Regions from separate parts of the Homo sapiens genome. Here region 1 is linked to region 2. The links are contacts of gene promoters, found by promoter capture Hi-C in human tissues and cell types (Jung and others, 2019). All regions are on one chromosome and are shown on one strand. The core of a region is centred on a gene start or on the middle of the fragment in contact, and the rest is flanking DNA. Distances in the headings are between cores, read along the strand shown. Region 1 overlaps ACLY (ATP citrate lyase). Region 2 holds the start of GAST (gastrin).

What was found. The method cuts DNA at HindIII sites, captures the fragments that hold promoters and counts their contacts. A contact is called where the count stands out against the background at its distance.
Region 1: a contact is called between a fragment that was not itself captured here and the fragment with the promoter of GAST in region 2, in 2 of the 25 tissues and cell types used here (dorsolateral prefrontal cortex and pancreas).

Annotation. Positions count from the first base shown.
Region 1 is chr17:41,894,517-41,897,216 of GRCh38, forward strand. ACLY (ATP citrate lyase) reads right to left here. Exons shown (of 29, transcript NM_001096.3): 14 at 2,104-2,133. It overlaps LOC124904005 (a long non-coding RNA gene), which reads left to right. Exons shown (of 2, transcript XR_007065757.1): 1 at 1-872; 2 at 1,207-1,250. Among named protein-coding and RNA genes, the nearest start is that of ACLY, 23 kb to the right of the region's middle. The HindIII fragment of the contact is 6,856 bases long and covers 1-2,700 here.
Region 2 is chr17:41,711,003-41,713,851 of GRCh38, forward strand. GAST (gastrin) reads left to right here and starts at 1,329. Exons shown (of 3, transcript NM_000805.5): 1 at 1,329-1,385. The HindIII fragment of the contact is 8,154 bases long and covers 1-2,849 here.

The sequences.
Region 1 (2,700 bases), core at 93-2,592, 180 kb after region 2:
TTCGAAACCAGCCACCGCGGCATAGTGAGACCCCACCTCAAAAAAAAAAACAACAAAGAAAAACCTTCCATGATGCGATTATTACGCATTGCACGCCTGTACCAAAATATCTCATGCACCCCTACTATGTACCCACAAAAATTTTAAAAAGAAAATTTTAATGCAGCAAGTATATTTAAAAAAAAAAAGAAAAAAGTGCAGTCCTTAGCCTAAAGGGAAAGGACTTTTACCACGCTTCAGGCAGTTGACTTTCCCCTCTGGGTCCCTGCAAGTCCAAGAGGAGGAAAGCAGCCCTCAGGGAGGTTCTGAGCTCCCCTAGGAAGAATGATGCATCTAGCCCAGTGGCATCTCGTATTAATTAACCTACTGTACTAGAGCAGGCTTGGCTAACCAAGTTCATGGTCTCATTAAATCCCTGTACAGGCCTGCCTCTTCCATCACAGCCTTACAGCTTCTCATGACAGAAGGTTCCTGATGTTGCAAATACCTGGGATTTACTGTCACCTAGACCCCCCGGGTTCTGCTGAGACATGAGATCACAGAACAAGGGGAGCCACCTAATCCAGTTCTCCCACTTCCCAGTCCTAGGAAACTGAAGCCCAGAGATGCCAAATGATTGAGGTCCGAGGTCATCCAGCATCAGAGCCAGGATTACACAATCACTTAAAATGCAGCTCAACTGTGAAAGTGAGGAGGGAGAATATAAGTGTGAGTTCATGACCCGCCATCCTCAGGGGAAGCCTGCATCATGTCACCCCCGCCAGGTGACGCACGTGCACATGCCTCTGATCTATCTACCCTGCCAGCTACAGAAATCAAGACAAAGCCTGGAATCTACCAACCTACCAGCATCTCCAGCAGGAAGGGTGGAGGTAAAGTGGCCCTTCCTCAAGCACAGAGAAACCAAAGCTGAAGGGTGTATCCTCAGCCCACCAGCAGCAGAGAGGCTCCAGAGAGAACCTCTGTGCCAGGGGCTATGCCCCCTACACCAGGCCTCCTCTGGCCTCGCTGAGGGGAGGGCTCGCTCAGCCATAATCTGTTCTCCCTGACACACCCTCCTTTTATTTCTCTCACTCCAGAAAGTAACAAGGATAACCCCCCTCCTCATAACCCTCCTCCCCTTCAGAGCACAGAGAGCTCCTGGAGAACCAGGGCTGGTCCCTGTTCTTTCCACACTGGGCTCACTCTGCTCTTAACTTTTTCCAGAGGCAAAAACATCAGGATTAAAGCCAGGTGGCCACAGTGCTGCATTCCAGGCCTTTCCAGCTGGTTATCGACCCTGCCAATTACTCCTTCCCCTCCCCTTAGCAAGGGGACAACAAAGACTTCCCCGCCTCCACGGCTGTGAATGTCAAAGTTAAATGGACGCTCTGATGCCATGAACCAATTAATCTACTCAGCTAGGCTGGTGGGTGAATGCGCATGCACAGAAGTATCCACTGTAAAATGTGACCTCATACACCAGACAAAGCTCATACCCCTTCCAATTACCCAGTCACTAGATCCGCTGCACACCCTTCTGCGCTTCCGTCTACCTCCTTCTTCACCTCTTTTGTTCCTCCACCACAACCCCAGAAAAAGATAAACTGGTCCCTGGAGCTTGAGGATGAAGCTGGCAGTGGTGAAGCCGAGGCAGGAAAGGTGGGAAAATGACATCAGGAGATGTAAATGAGAAGCAGGGGTGACTTGTGGCTCCCCTTCTGCACCCCAGCAGTGACAGACGCCCACGACTCTCTGCCACTCCCCATTTAGTTGGATGGCTCCCTCCTTCCCAGGCGACACTCTCTCCTTGACACCACTACACTCTCCAGGGCTGTGGGTCTGGCTCTTGCTCCTTCCAAAATCTCTACCCCTTCCCAAGCTTGGAGCCAGAAACAGCCACACAGTGAGGAGAGGACTGAGTGGGGCGCGTACTGAGCACGGATAGGAGGGGAGGAAGAGCGAAGACTTAGGACTTGGGGTCAGGCCACATCAAGGCAGGGACAGAAAATAGACCAGACGACACTGCAACCCACCAGGGGAGGGGGAAACAGAGCACACAGTAAAACTGTCACCCGCTAACAAAGCCACACGCGGAGTGGGGGCAGGGTGGGGGCATCCTACCTTGCAGGGATCTTGGACTTGGGACTGAATCTGTCAAAGAAAATGACCAAGGCAACTGAGTGACCCACTGATGGCTGGAGGCTTTGGAGGGAGAGGGTGGGAACAGGGAAGGGTCCCATGGACAAGCCTTTCAGGGCTAAAGCCCTCATCATCCCTCTCCTGTTCTGCAATGGACAACGGAGTAAGGCCAGCAGAAGAGGTGAAAGCACCGATGAGCAGAATGGAAGCAAGAAAGAGCAAAGACCAAACGGGCAGAGAGGGGGCAGGAGGAGGACAAAGGCTGGGCAGATGTGCTCAACACCAGCGCCTCCCCCAGGCCCTCTGCAGGGACAGCTGGATGACTTGAACTCTGGGCTCTCTAGCTGGCGCAGTCCCACCCTCTTAATGCCAATCCCTTTTTGTCTCCATGAAACACTATGAGATGATTGGCCAGCATGGGGTTGACCCGTGCCATGGACAAGGATGCTGATTTGGGACAGTGTCACTATTTTCCAAAATGCCATAGCAAAGTGTGTCCCAGGAAGAGGCTGCACAGGTATACCAGCCCAGGGGTAACTAACACCACTTATGTAGAGCTGGCTGCAAGGGCTGGCCGGC
Region 2 (2,849 bases), core at 79-2,578:
GGTGGGGGCCCAATGACGCATGAACAGGAGCAAAATCTCTGCTCTCAACAGTGGAAAAGTAAAAAACAGCCTACGGCTCATTACATCTGGTCAAACCATGTGGAGGCAGCAGTTTATCAAATAAGTCAACAAGGTACCATTTTGTTTTCTGGTCCATCTTTGGCAAATGCTTTAGTCTGTTTGCTAACCATTTGAAGGTATATTTTGATACTGAAAAGTTGTTGGCTGGGCATGGTGGCTCACGTCTGTAATCCCAGAACTTTGGCAGACTAAGCTGGGCCGATCATGAGGTCAGGAGTTCGAGACCAGCCCGCCCAACACGATGAAACCCCATCTCTACTAAAAATACAAAAAATTAGCCAGGCGTGGGGGCGTGCGCCTGTAATCCCAGCTACTAGGGAGGTTGAGGCAGAAGAATCGCTTGAACCCAGGAGGCGGAGGTTCCAGTGAGCCGAGATCACACCACTGCACTCCTGCACTCCAGCCTGGTGACAGAACTAGACTTTGTCTCAAAAAAAAAAAAAAGTTGTTATGCAGATTACTAGCTCCCCTTGAAAGCAAAATGAAGGAGGCTTCAAAGGCAGGACCCTCCAGGAATTGGTTCTGCATAGGGGGTTTGCAAGTGGTGGTGCATGGGCAGCTGACCTAGAAGACACGGGGCAGCTACAAGCCAAACCCAGCCCAGCACAGAGGGCCTAAGGAGAAGAAGGCACCAAGGGTGTTCCATGGTAGGGGGAGGGTGAAAGGACTTCAGAGGTGACCAGGATGTGAGCCACTAGAAGGAGAGAACAGGGCCATCAGCCCACAACCCATTGCTCCTGGTAACACGTTATGTTTGCAGAGTCCAGTGGAGGGGACGGGGAATCAATACATCACCCCACATTCACACGCTTGCCAAACATCAGTGGATGGCGAAATCCACTTTCCCTGAATCTAAGCCCATCGGGTTCACTCCCTCACCTACCACCACCCACAAAGGTCCCTATGTAGTTCGAGAGATAAGTGCCAGGCCTCTGACCCCCAGGATATGGTGGGAAGCATTGCTCCTGACCCAGGGAGCTTGGTTCCTGCCCCTCAGGTACAGCTGGAGAGCTGCCGCCACCCCGCTCCAGCCCCTCACCATGAAGGTCAACTCCCCTATCCTTCCCCCACATCCTGGATGACTGACTGACACTAAATGAAAGGGCGGGGCAGGGTGATGGGCTGTACCTGTGCCCCACCCCATTCCTCTCGCCTGGACTCATATGGCAGGGTAGGGGCGGGGTGGGGGGACAGTTGGGAGGGACCTTGAGGGCTTTATAAGGCAGGCCTGGAGCATCAAGCAGAGCAGAGACCTGAGAGGCACCAGGCCCAGCCGTGGCACCACACACCTCCCAGCTCTGCAGGTGAGAAAACCCAGGAGGAGAGGGGAGAGGCTAGGAAGTGGGTTGACAGGTCCTCTCCCCCATCAAGGTACCAGGCCACTGGCCAGAGTCTGGGGCTCACCCCTTGGGGTCTCCAGAGCTGGGACCCTTTCTTTATCCCAGGATGGAACTAGGTCTTGGCTCCAGTACCTACCCTGGTATTCCCAACCTTGCCTTCCACCTGCCCTTCTGCCGCAGCCGGGGCCCTGCCCTTAGCCTATCCCTTCACACTCTTCCCAGCCCTGGGAGGTGAGGAGGACTGGGGTTCTTCTCCTTTCTCTCAGACAAGAAAACTGAGGCCCAGAGGCAAGATGTGACTTGCCCAAAGTCACAGGGATTATTAGGCAAGGCTGGGATAGGAATCCACAGCTCCTGGATCCCACTTCAAGCCCTTTCCTAGACCAGTGCCATCCAAAAGAACGTCCTATGATGCAGGAAATGGTCTTCATCTGCACTGTTCAATATGGTAGCCACTAGCCACGTGTGCGCTTGAAATGGGGTTAGTGTAAGGAAGTTTTTGTTGTTGTTGTTGTTTGTTTTTTTATATAGAGTCTCGCCGTGTCACCCAGGCTGGAGTGCAGTGACATGCAACCTCTGCCTCCCAGGTTCAAGCAATTCTCCTGACTCAGCCTCCCGAGTAGCCGGGATTACAGGCGCCTGCCACAACACCCAGCTAATTTTTCATATTTTTGGTAGAGACAGAGTTTCACCATGTTGGCCAGGCTGGTCACAAACTCCTGACCTCAAGTGATCCAACCCCCTCAGCCTCCCAAAGTGCTGGGATTACAGGCGTGAGCCACTGCACCTGACCATAATTTTTTAATTTAATTAATTTAAATGTAAAGAGCCACATGTGGCTGGTGGCTATAGCACTGAACAACACATGTGGTTAGCATCTGACAATACAGCTCCAGATCACTGATTTTTCAAACATTTCTTCAGCAGCAGAATTCTTTTCTTCCAAAGAAAACCTAACAGAAAACCTGATTATGAAAAACTTAATGGCCAGGCACCGTGGCTCATGCCTGTGATCACAACACTTTGGGAGGCTGAAGCAAGCAGATTGCTTGAGCTCAGGAGTTCCAGACCAGCCTGGGCAACATAGTGAGACCTCATCTCTACTAAAAATAAAAACAAAAAAATTAGCTGGGCATAGTAGTGCACACTTGTAGTCCCAACTACTCAGGAGGCTGAGGTGGGAGGATCTCTTGAGCCCAAGAGGTCGAGGCTGCAGCGAGTCAGGATCACGCCAGCCACTGCATTCCAGCCTGGGAGACAGAGCAAGATTCTGTCTCACAAAAAGAAAAGAAAAAAAGAAAAACTTAAAAGCAGTACAGTATTTTATTAATACAAATGTATTCTGACAAGAGAAAATTTTTATCATTTTCTTATGATAAAGCCAATCAGAATAGTGAGACCAAAAGCATACAAAAATAGTGAGTCCAG